2 separate regions of the Homo sapiens genome follow, and region 1 is linked to region 2. The links are contacts of gene promoters, found by promoter capture Hi-C in blood cells and fetal thymus (Javierre and others, 2016). All regions are on one chromosome and are shown on one strand. The core of a region is centred on a gene start or on the middle of the fragment in contact, and the rest is flanking DNA. Distances in the headings are between cores, read along the strand shown. Region 1 overlaps BLTP1 (bridge-like lipid transfer protein family member 1). Region 2 holds the start of BLTP1 (bridge-like lipid transfer protein family member 1).

Region 1 (6,858 bases), core at 422-2,921, 150 kb after region 2:
AATATGTTGATGTTAGAACGATGGCTTTTAAATTTTGCACATCAATTTTAACTACTGTAACTTATGTATTATTATATTTACAAAAATATTTAGTTTAATTTCCTAAAGTTTCTGATTATAAATTCAGTGAAAACTCATTTACCTTGGCATTTCATTGAAAATTGTAGCCGCATATTGTTATAGTTTAGTGCAGATGCACTCACATAAAACTTAATCCAGTATCTTCGTAATCATTTGCTTGTAATTTTTTTTATTTTGCTAAACATTTTTTATTTCAAAGTCTTGTGCTAACATTACTCAGTTCTTAAAATGTTAAGTGTATACCTTTCCTGTAGAATATTAGCAAGTTCTGCATATAGTAATGTTAAATAAAGTTAAAAAACAGCAGTTAGATTCTCTATTTTATAAAAATGAATGTTCACAGCTTATTGGAGATTTTTTTTGTTTTTATTTTGCCAAAAATTATTATGTAGATTTTAATCTTTTTTCCTCTTTGAAGAACCAAGTAGAAAAATGCCAGTCACAGTTTCAAAACTGAATCGCTGCATTAAAGATACGAGGAAAAAATGAACAAAAATTTCTTGTCATCTCTTAGAGGTTCTAATTATTCTGAAATATTTAATACATTGCCATTTAGAATATGGACCTCATCCTAACTTTTATATAAAGTTTATCTATGACTTCATATTTACTTCTTGCATGGCTATTTTGTATATTAATTTCAAGTGTTTATGGTACAGAGTATAAGGAATATACATTAACAGCTGAATTTGAGAAAAATGTATTATAGTTTTTTTGGTGAACAATACCATTAATAATGTTTAGTTTCATATTAAAACTTTTTCCATTATTTTATTTTATTGAGCTTTAAATTTTATTTTAGGTTTATGAGGAAGCTGGTTCTGATTTTCATCAAGTTGCCTATTTTAAAACCAGAATTGGATTAAGAAATGCCCTCCGAGAAGAAATCAGTGGTTCTTCAGATAGGGAAGCTGTGCTTATTACTTTGAATAGACCAATTGTTTATGCACAGCCTGTGGCCTTTGATAGAGGTAAGATAAAGTCAATCACTACTATCCTCTGGGATCTAGGAATGCTTTGTTAATGCTAGATAAGAATCTTGTAGTTTACTGGTGTAAATGCTTGACAGCTAAATGGTTCCTAAATCTGAAATGTGTGTATCCAAAAAAAAAATCTTGCTTTTTGCCTTCAGTTTTTAAAAGTTATTTTACATTTTAAAGTTATTTTGTCTTCTGGCTGGATAACATAAGAGTGTCTGCTTCAGATTATGTAATTGTAATGCTGATTTTTTTTGTTTTGATAATTAATGCACCCATTTGTGTTTTGGCACTGTGTTTATTTTTATATTCTATAAACATTTATCAGGTACTGCCTAGAAGTGGAATACAAAAATAAACAACAGTATCCCTGCCCTCAAGGACCTGTCAGTCCAGTGGAAAAGAAAACAAAGTAGACTACACAGTGGAGTCAGAGATGTGTTCTTGGTTCTGAGGAATTCTCTACCTTTGCCTATGCTTCTTAGAGGAGAAACTAATTCTTGATTTGACTTTGAATTAGGAGTTCACCAGGGAGATAAGGAAATGAAATTTACTTTTATATCCCAGGGCCTAGAACAGTCCCTGGCATACAATAAGAACGAAATAAACATTGAGTAAGAGAGAATAAGAATGAATGTGTTTAAACACATAAGTCTAAGAAAATATAGCAGTAGGTTTCATAGAAGAAAATAATGGGAAAGAAGGCTGAACAGGTAGACAAGGTCTAATTAATGTGGATTGGGCAAATATATTTGAACTGTATTTTAGAAGTAATGAGGAGCCATTTAAGAAGCCATTTAAGATCTTCATCAGTGATGGACATAGGCTAGTAACAGAATCCTGTTAGAAAATTGCCCTTTTGGCAGTGTTACAGATAGCATTTTATTTTGCTGAATCCCATGTACATGTTTTTCAGTTCTCATTTTACTGACCTCTCATCAGCTTTCATCAGCTTCTTAAAGTATTTTGTACCCTTGGTGTCCTTGACACAAAACAGGTTGAGTACTGGTTTTCCAAAGTAATTGGGACAGGAAGTGTTTCAGATTTTGGATTTTTTCAGATTTTGGTATATTTGTGTATACATAATGAGATATCTTGGGGCTGGGACCCAAGTTTAAACATGAAATTTATTTATGTTTCATATACACCATATACACATAGCCTGAAGATAATTTTATAAAATATTTTAAATAATTTTGTGCATGAAACAAAGTTTTGACAGCATTTTGGCTGCAGTCTCACATGAGTTCAGATGTGGAATTTTCCACTTGTAGCATCATATCAACATTCAGAAAGTTTTGGGATTTTGGATTTCGGATTAGGGATGCTCAACCTGCATTTGCTTTTCCTCCTACTTCTCTGGCCTCTCCATCTTTATGTCCTTTTTAGAGGCCCCTCCATCTATACACTGCTGTGAAATGAAGGTTTTCCTTAAGGTTTGTTTCTGTTTAACAAACTCAAACATCTTTGACTTTTCTCTGTAAATCAGATCCTTTTAATGGTATGTTCCTAGCATTATGTACCTTAAAGAATTTTAAAAGAAGTAACAGCTCTACAGATGAAGTTAAGCACCATGTCTGTTTTCATTTGTTATTCCATCCCAGTATCTAACATATAATAGGCATTTCACAAATAAGTTAGAGGGAATGAACAGACCTGGATTTTCTTCTTCCTTGTGCCATTATGTGGTTGCCTGCTTTCTGTTTTATTTTTTCATTTGTTATTTAAAAAATGGTGACTATATGTCCTCTTAGATCTTTCCTAATTCTAATGCTACAGTTTTCTGGGTGTAATTTTTATTAAGCAACAGGATTTTGCAGCTTTTGAGTTTTACTTAACATATAGATTTACAGTGTTGATTTTAATTTTCTTTCTGCCCTGTCTTAATTATCAAAAGCTGTGCTGTTTTGGCTGAATTATAAGGCCGCCTATGACAACTGGAATGAACAACGAATGGCTTTACATAAGGATATTCATATGGCTACAAAGGAAGTAGTAGATATGCTACCTGGTATCCAGCAAACATCAGCCCAGGCCTTTGGGACTCTTTTTCTCCAGCTCACTGTCAATGATCTGGGAATTTGCCTACCTATCACAAATACTGCACAGGTACAAAAAGTCAAGTCATATTCCAGGATTAAGAGCCAGGCATTTCTACATAACCATTTCTAAGTATTTAGAATATAACAGTACATTTTTCAGTGTAACAGTTTATAACTGTTTAGTAGGTAGCAAGTAAGATTGAATTCCTTCAACCATTACTCATCTCAATGTATTAAATCTTAATCTCATGGGACTTTTCTCTGAAGCACTCTTATATGCTTCAGAATAGTGATAAGATTGATACCCCCCAGATAACTCTTAATTTTTACCTTCATAAAAAGAAGCTTAGTTTCAGAATCATTTTATTGTTTTCTTTTTTAACAAGGAAGTCATTGGTATGGACTTGTTTATAAGATGGAAATAAAAGGACATTTAAGAATACTGTTTAATGAACTTAACCTGTAATAGAATAGGGAATTCCAAAATGCTTTTATACTGTAATATTTAATGGTAATGAAACTTCAAAGCAGTGTGCACATAAACCAGGAATTTTCTCTTTGCAACTTAAGACCAATTTTCAGGAATATGTAACTGCATGCACATGTGTGTATGAGAGAGAGAAAAGGCTATGAACACCTGTCAGGCCAAGAAGCAACAGTTATTAACAATAGCATATAGAGATCTATATTTTACTGTTACAATTTACCTTAATAACTTGTAACCAGTTGTTGAATTAATTTATCTTTTAGGATTCTGTTCGGTAAGACAGTGTTAAGAAAAACTTCAGGTTGAGGATGGGTGGCATTGGTATGTTTGTGTTTCAGGAACTGAAATATAGTAGTTTTTTAATAGCATAATGGGCACTGCCTAGGAAGGCCATAAACACCACAGGTGGGTGGCATAGTGAGATCATCTCCCCACAACTAAAAGAGAGGCTTGAGATAGAAATGTAGATAGCCCTTTGTATGTTAAGTAAGAAAAAAAATGCACATGGCAAGTACATTGCACTTAAGCAATTTAATTTTTAAAAGGCATCTTTCTAAGCTGCTCTTTAATGAACATATCTAGGCTTGACCGTTTCTAGATTTCTATTCCTATGAATCCTGTGAGGATTTCTAAGTTTAAAAAATTGTCACCTTTTGTCTTATTTCTTCTTTAATATATTTTGCAGTCTAATCATACTGGAGACCTTGACACTGGTTCTGCTTTGGTATTAACCATTGAAAGTACTCTCATCACTGCATGCTCTTCAGAGTCTCTGGTTAGCAAAGGGCATTTCAAAAACTTTTGTATCCGTTTTGCTGATGGATTTGAGACATCATGGGATGACTGGAAACCAGAAATTCATGGGGATTTAGTGATGAATGCCTGTGAGTATCTTTTATTTCTATATACAGTTTAGAACTTAAAAAATAAAACATTAAGTCTCCATTTGTGAAATTAAAAGATGCTTAGATATAGCAAATGTTTTTAGACTTTGAGAAAGAAGGGCTATTTCTAGTTACAGGTAACAAACCATATTCGTGAAAAACTACAGCATTGAGTAGTTTTGGTAAGTAAACCAACCAGGCATTCTTTTTGGTACTATAACATTTGAATGTTTACACAGTCCCTGATTTTTCCTGTAATTGATCCATGTTTGACCAGATAAAGCATTTTTGACCTGTCGGAATCTTGAAAAAAAATGATAAATGTGCAATATCCAACTCACCATAAAACACAGAACAGGTTGTAAATAGCCAGGACCAGGAACGCCAGCCTTAATTAATATTGACGTGAATAAATCCACATGTTCAAATTTGTAGGAGTGCAGAGTGTAACATGAATTCCTGCAATTCCATAATATTCAAGGTTGGGTATAACTAAAGCTGTGTTTATAGGCCGTATTGAAGATACGGAATTTATTTGTATATATTTTTATATTTTAAATATTATAGCAGAGTTGGTAAAGCATCATTAATCTTAATAATAAAGAAAAATTATAAATAAGGAGTTAAAAGGTTATGAACTAAAATTCCTCAATCTTGTAAACTAAATTACTTACTTTTTAGAAAGCGGTAGCCCATTGTTTATGTAATTTTTTCCTCTCTCCACTAGAGGGAAATCTTTCTACTTCCCATTTTCTTTGAGGAATGAGAAAATTTCTATTATTTTTACAAAAATTGAAGTTTTAGCATTCAAAATGAAAAAGTCTTGGTTTTAATGTGTAGGGAAGGAAAAATATCTTTTCCTACTACCCTTTTAGGCTATTTGCTGGGGGGCTTGTGTAATAAAAGACCAATTAATGAGAGAAAAGCATACAGGTTTATTTAATATGAGGTTTTTTTGTGACATGGAGCCTTCATAAGGAAATGAAGATCCAAAGAAATGGTTAAACCTGAGTATTTTTATGCTAGGTTTGATGAAGAGTAGAGAGTTGTAGAGCAATGTGAGAAAATAAAAAGGGGTATGAGTTAAGCGTAGTAAACTGGGGGAAACTAACCAAGGTCTGTTTGTTCAGATTCATCTCAGTGTCCCTCCACTTTGGAGATGAGGATGCTCCTTTCCTCTGGGTATAGGAAGGGCATCTCTCACATGTGGTTCATATGACCTACTTCAGAAGAAAGTCAAAGTCCTTCCTGCATCTGCTGCTTCTCAAATTGCTTCAGTTTAAAATACCTTCCATATGACAAGGTGCCATTTTAGAAGGCAGTGTGTACTAAACCCCATCAAATACTTTGCATTTAGATAATTATAGGTAAAATACCAGTACTTATTTGAAATACTTCAGGTTACTGAGAAGACTTGATATGGAAATACTCATGCCTATTATCCAAAAGACCAGTATCAGCCTACAACAGAAATCTTTATAGATTTATTATTTTACACAATAGTTATACATGGCTTTTTAAAAATCACTAAAACATATCTTTTGTTTTTTTAATAAAAGACAAAAATAAATTTAAACTTAGTGATTTTTATTAAGGTGACAGCTTTACCATCATTGTATTTATTAAAATAAGTAGAATATATTTGGAAAAAAAGGAAGTAAACCATTTCCTTAACAGTTTATCTTAAAGGGCAAATGCATAAGATATAAAATGAGAAATACGCTCTGACTCAGAATCAGAAACATGCATTAAAAAATGAACAAATAATTTAGCACCTCAGTATATATTCTGTTAATACAGAACACTAACATGCTGGTAATCATGATACTCAGAATAATTTATTTTGGGTTTTAGAGGGGACTAACTGACATGCTTCTGTAACATGCTTATTGTTTGGGTTTCTTGGGAGGGGGCCAGAAGGAGATAAGCAGAGTAGTTATGTAACTGACATATTTATAAAACTTCCAAATGATAAAATGGACAAATTAGTTTACTAGCTTATAGTTTTTATTAGTAATAAGTATACCTCAATATTTTTGAACAAAGGTGATGTGTATAGGGCAGAGAAATAAGGAATGTTAGGATTATGCCTTAGAATTTTTTTAACAGGTCATTTTTAAAACATACTCTAAAAAAAAAGTGACCCAGTAAAATTTCTTCTCTAGGTGATAATGTTTATTGAGAAATGCATTAGAAATTAACAAGGACAGTCTATAGGAAGAGTTCAAAGAACGATTTAAGTAGATAGTAAATATTAGGACAATATCATGAATGTGTATTCAGACAAAATAAACCATCAGAAGTTTAGATGTCTGCAAGCTCTCTGTAAAACCTAGGTAGCCTTTGGTCATCAGAGCAGAAAAATTACCATCCTGCATTCAGCCTAA
Region 2 (6,147 bases), core at 85-2,584:
CAGTCCCCTCACACGGTTACAGAAAGGCCATAGTGAACTTCCTTCTCTCCTCTCCCCTCTGCTACAGTGCAACTTAGTTTCAGTTTAGTTTTTGATTTGGGGAACTTGAACCATCTCTAGGTAATTTCTAGTCCAGAGAACTTGTACTTGCACAATGTCCTTCTTGGGCAAAATCCGAAGTTTGGCTGTAGCAAATTTGAATCCTTGTGGTGGTTCCCTTATTACAAAACAAAGATTGACTAGAAATCTTCCAGATGTTGAAAAAGACAACTGAAATTAATTTCTTTGTAGAGGGGCAGAAATAAACTCTAAAGAGTTAATTGACATAAGGCCAGTACCAGTGTCCAGGTAGCAGAAGGAAGTAACTAAGACAGTGCATGCTTTTCTCCTTTTGGTTTTCATCCAGTCCTTCCATAAACCACTTCTGTCTGGGCCTCTATTTCCTTATATGCAATAACAGTTAATTGTTGTACCTCGTGTGTTTTCTGGCATTATCTTAAATTTGGTTTCATATCTGTTCCTTTTGAGGTGAGAGTGGAACAGCCATGTGGAAATATTAAGGTTGTAGTAAGTACCTCAGCTCCGGAAAGAAGTCAGAACTAGAGATTTAGACATTTGGAACTTCAGAGGCAGTATACAGTAATACTTTGGAGCCACATTTCTTGGGTCCAAACCCTGGTTCTCTAGCAAGTTATTTAACCTCTCAGTGTCTTAGTTTTTCAATTTGTGAAATGGAGATAAACGGGGATGAGAATAGCCTCACAGGATTTTGGAAGGATTAGTCAATAAGCCCTGCTAAACACTGTTTACTATTGCTAGTATATAGCGCAGACAAATAAATATCTGCGACATTCCTCTAATTCCAAGAAGTCGTTTGCCTTGGTTCACCCGCTAAATAATATTAAGAGCCTTTCTCTTTAAAAAGAGGAGCAGCAAATTACTTTTCATTAATATCATCAGCATAATAATAGACTTAGTTGAGAGATTCAGCGTGGCAGCACTTCACACAATCGAGCTCTCTTATTGATCATGTCATAACAGCATCTCTATTTCTTAAGGACTCATTTCACGTCATACACCCATCCGATGCTCCTTTTTCGTTAGCCTCCGTCTCCTAAGTGGGCTTATCTGTCTCCTGCTATCAGGAAGGCACTAACTTTTCCTTTGGGTTGTTAGGGTAGCAAAGTGATTTTCAAATTCAGGGTTCTGGCTCCTTCTGCAGCCCAGAGAGGAGGAAACAGGGCGGGACGCCGCCGGATTCCTGGGCAGGGCTTGAGTGGCGCACCTCGAGGCGCCGGCGACGCTGGCGTGTGACGTTGCTGCCTGACGCAGGCGCAGTGCCGCCCGGCCTCGGTTGGGACCCCTCCCCTCCTCCTCCGCCCCCTTGGGTGTCGGTGGCTGCGGCCAGGGTCTGGACCTGGGCGGCGGCCCCGGGCGGCGGGGCTAAAGGGTGTGGGCACCGGCAGAGCTTCGCAGGCTGCATCCGGCTCGGTGCTGCTGCCGTCGCCGCCCCTGCCGCCGCCCAAGGCCCTCGGCGTTCCCCGGAGAGAGGCCAGAGGGATTTCGGGCTGCCTCGGCACTCGCCCAGGTGAGGGGATGGGCCGGGCCAGACGGGGTTGAGGTCGTCAGCCCCTTTTTCCAGTGTCTCTGGAACTCAACCTGGTCGGAGTCTGAGAGCTTTGGCTTAGTAGTGGCTGCCTGCGGCGGCGACTCCTTCATATTCCTTTGCCATCCTTACCTACAGCCCTGGCACCTATAAACCGAGGGTTGGAGGTCAGTGGCAAAGTCTGGAAGGGCCATGGCAGTCGGATGGCTGGGGACTTTGATACAGGAGCAGTTCCTGCGGGTGATGGTAAGGCGCTCCACTTGCTGGTGTGTGGACTCGGCAGGAAGGACCGTGCACCCGCAGGCTCGGACTGCAGCCTTGCCAGCTGCACTGGGTTGTAGTAGACCCCATGCTGCTTAATATAGGGTCGGTTGACCGAGGGCGGGGAAGCCTTGGAACAACCCCCGCTTTCTTCTCTGGGATTGATGTGTTTTGTATTCTGAATTGGTGCTTGCTGCACTGCACTCTAGAAGACTACGTTTCAGCAGAATTTCCTATTGGTCAAAGGAAGGTGAAGAGAAGTTGATTTTTCTTCCGGAGAGTATTAGTTGTTGTCGTTTTTTTTTTTTTTTTTTTTACCTTCCTGTTGGCCTTAGTGTTGACGTTTGTTAAAGGTAAAAGTTCATGTGAATTTCCTTTTTAAGGAAATCATGGGCTTTATAACTGTCTAAGCGCCTGTAAGTTTCAACCGGTTTAGTGGTTTCTGCTTTCACCCTGTGCATAGCAATGAAGTTGTTTTATTCCAAGTTAAATATACAAAGTATAAAAATAGATGAATAACCAGAATACTTTGTAACTATTGAGTGGTACATATAATTATGTGCATATATTATCACATTTAATCATCAAAACAATCCTATAATGTAAAGTCTACTATTCCCATTTTCTAGATGAAAGAACAGAATAGACCTACAAAGTAACATGTTCAAAGTCAGAGCTGTGACTGAAACCAGGTAATCTGACTCGTTTGCAGTCCCTTAGTCAGTATGCCATACCAACTCCCAAGCACCCTGTGATTTTGCAAGATTTTCATTTGATAAAAAGTATGCCAGGAAGGACATTATGGCACTGTTCTTGCCGGCAAGGACCCAACAGTTTGAGAGAAACTTTCTCAATGTGCATTTTGAGTTATGTTTTAAACATAGGATTTGATCTCTAGGACCTTTGATTACCAAACTCATGCTCTTAAGTACAGTGGTTTTGGAGTCTTTGGAAGGCTTCAGTTTGGAAGTTGTAGTTTTATTTTATACTTAGGAGTATTTGTTGTTTGGAAACTTTAAACAAGGAAACGTAATATTGGACTAAAAGAGTTTCGTCCTGTTTGTGCATGATTAAGTAACGAAATCATATAATCAGAAATGGTTATGCTGCTCGTAAAGCCAGAATACCTTGTATAATTAGTTAAAATGCCATACTTTTCAGGTTTGTTAAGATGAAACACTGCAGAAAGGCTATCTGAAGAAAAGTAGAAGGAAAAACAGAACGTTGCAAACTCTGGAAAAAAACTTGGGTAAGTATTTTTGGCTAAGTTTTAAAAAGGTCAAATTTTCGGTTAAAGACTTTTTTTTTTTTTTTTTTTTTTTTTTTTTTTGAGACGGAGTCTCGCTCTGTTGCCCAGGCTGGAGTGCAGTGGTGCGATCTTGGCTCACTGCAAGCTCCACCTCCCGGGTTCACGCCATTCTCCTGCCTCAGCCTCCCAAGTAGCTGGGTCTTCTGACTTTCTGCTTCAGTTGTGGTTTAATCTGCCTATATTGCTAGGGAATGGGGGTGGGGTGGTGGTGATATGTAATGTAACCTGTTAGTCATTTTACTTGACTTTTGAGCTATTGATACCTGATTGACAAATTAAGTCATGTGCTTAGCCTGTGCATTGGCAGGAGAAAGCAGGGAAATCCTTTGCTTAACAGGTGTCAAAATTCTGTTCTCTCTTTTGCTTGCTCTTTAATCTACCTATGTTTGTAAAGTGTTTTAAGAAGAAATTGAGAAAATGGCCGGGCGCGGTGGCTCACGCCTGTAATCCCAGCACTTTGGGAGGCCGAGGCGGGCGGATCACAAGGTCAGGAGATCGAGACCATCCTGGCTAACATGGTGAAACCCCGTGTCTACTAAAAATACAAAAATTTAGCGGACGTGGTGGCGGGTGCCTGTAGTCCCAGCTACTCGGGAGGCTGAGGCAGGAGAATGGCATGAACCCAGGAGGCAGAGCTTGCAGTGAGCTGAGATCGCACCACTGCACTCCAGCCTGGGCGACAGAGCGAGACTCCATCTCAAAAAACAAAAATTGAGAAAATGAAGAAAAGTAGTTGACTTTTGGTTTGTTTTTCATAGAATATTGTGTATGGCTGAACTCAAGTATATTTTTTATGAATTCTACAGAGAATAATGGAAGACATGATCAAAGGTGATTAAGAAGCAGTGTAATTCATTTCATAACTAGCTATTGAGTATCATGTGTCAGACATCCAGGCTTCTGGTAATAGAGCAATGGTCTTCATGGCCCTGGAGAACACTACAGTAGTGCATTTTCTCTTAGAAGGTAACATTTTTTGTGAATTAATATGTTTTCTTTATTTGATAAGCAAGTATGTTTTTGGTTTATGTAAGAGACTAGAAAGTGAGCATTACTCATATAGTAAGAATTTATAATAAATTTTATATTATTTTAGTTGGTAAAGCAGGATTCTCTATGAATGCTGCATTAATGTACAGTGGGAAGCTAGGATTTTTTTTTTTTTTTTGGAGACACAATTTCACTCTGCCTCCCAGGCTGGAGTGCAGTGGCGCAATCTCTTCTCACTGCAACCTCTGCCTCCTGGGTTCAAGTAATTCTCATGCCTCAAGCTCCCGAGTAGCTGGGATTACAGGCATGTGCCACCACGCCTGGCCAATTTTTGTATTTTTGGTAGAGACAGAGTTTCACCATGTTGGCCAGGCTGGTCTCGAACTCCTAACCTCAAGTGATCCACCCGCCTCGGCTTCCCTAAGTGGTGGGATTACAGGTGTGAGCCACCGCGCCTGGTGAAATGAGGATTTTTGTAGACTTAATTTTAGCATACTGTATTTCATATTAAAGATAATATGGGAGCTTAGCAAAATTAATTTTTTAATTTGAGAAAATTTTGAGGAACTTGTATAGAAGATACATGGTCAGATAGGGAACTGTTTAGGTGATGAATTGGAGGGAGGTGAGCTTTGAAGACTGGTGATTAGTTAGAGGCTATTATAGTTATCCAGGTGGGAAATGAGAACTGCAGTGCATATTGGAATTAAGAAATGGAGATGGATTTAATAGATGTAAAGAGGGTAGATGGATAGGATTTAGTGGGCTTGAGGGAAAATGAAGTCAGGGTAGTTTCTAGCCACCATCATCTTTATGCATATGTTAATGTTTAATAAATACTTTTGAGATGCTTAGAATGAATTCTCTGGCTTGGGAAACTGAGTAGATTCTGGGGCCATTTACTGAGGTAGGAAGTGTAGGAAGAACAGTAGATTGGGGAACATGATTGGAGGAGATGAGTTCAGTTTGGTCCATTAAATCTGAGGCATCCGTGACTTCTAAGAAATGTCATTAGTGAGTTGTATATATGGATCTGAATTAAGCAGAATACCCAGCTTGAGATGTAAATTTTGGAGTCACAATTTAAAGATGATAGTTAAAAGCAACGGCAATGGATGAGATCACTCAGGAAAATGTAGAGTGAAAATAGAAGAGAAATGAGGTTGGAGAACAACAGCATTTAAGGGTGAGGTTAAAGAAAAATACACCTCAAAGGAGTGGGCAGGGAAGTAAGATTGGGTAAGAGAGTCACAAAAGTCAGTGGAAGAACCGAGTTTAGAGAAAAGGAATGAGTATTAGACATCTATAGACATCAAATAGGATGAGGACAACTAAAGTATCCATTGGACATATCACTTAAGAAATCGTTGATGACCTGAGCAAGAGCAGTTTTATAAGTGAAGCTAATTCACACTGGGCAAGAGACATGGATGTTGAAATAGCTAATGTCATTTACTATTTCAGAAAGTTTAGTTGTAAATGAATAGAGAAGGATATAGCTAAAGCTATGAGTTTGAGAGAAGGTTTTTGTTTTTTAAGGTATAAGGGATATAAGCACATGTTTATTTGCTGAAGATAAAGAGTCATCAGTAAGAAAATCTGAAGATAAAGGAATGAGGCAAAATAATTGGTGAAGCAAAGTCACTGAACAAACTGGAAAGGATATAATACAAGGGCTCAGGTCAAGGGTACTTTAGGTAGACTTCTACTGAGACAGGAAGGAAGGAGATGATGATGATGATATATTACAGATAAATTTGTAGGAGGCAGGATAAAGGGCTACTCTACAAAGTTTATGCAGGAGACTCTGACTTATGGTAGAAAGAGGAAATGGTTCACTCTTGTAATCAGTAGCCTTCTTGATGTGGCATTGCTGACTCCTGATCTTTTAGTAGGGAGGAGGAGGAGAGTGAGGTGGTTTAGCTTAAGATGACGTATATGAATCATCAAGTTAGAGATACCTTGAAGATCTCTTGCAAAA

Evidence for each region. Contacts are between HindIII fragments. The CHiCAGO score rates a contact against its expected background, and 5 or more counts as called.
Region 1: a contact is called between a fragment that was not itself captured here and the fragment with the promoter of BLTP1 in region 2, in 1 of 17 cell types (neutrophils). The highest score is 5.1, in neutrophils.

The regions. Positions count from the first base shown.
Region 1 is chr4:122,304,994-122,311,851 of GRCh38, forward strand. BLTP1 (bridge-like lipid transfer protein family member 1) reads left to right here. Exons shown (of 88, transcript NM_001384125.1): 57 at 884-1,052; 58 at 2,956-3,167; 59 at 4,273-4,471. Among named protein-coding and RNA genes, the nearest start is that of ADAD1, 71 kb to the right of the region's middle. RefSeq lists an enhancer at 788-1,318. The HindIII fragment of the contact is 3,544 bases long and covers 1-3,443 here.
Region 2 is chr4:122,150,997-122,157,143 of GRCh38, forward strand. It overlaps BLTP1 (bridge-like lipid transfer protein family member 1), which reads left to right and starts at 1,335. Exons shown (of 88, transcript NM_001384125.1): 1 at 1,335-1,588; 2 at 3,029-3,116. RefSeq lists an enhancer at 626-1,427 and silencers at 1,250-1,439, 1,510-1,589. The HindIII fragment of the contact is 21,892 bases long and covers 1-6,147 here.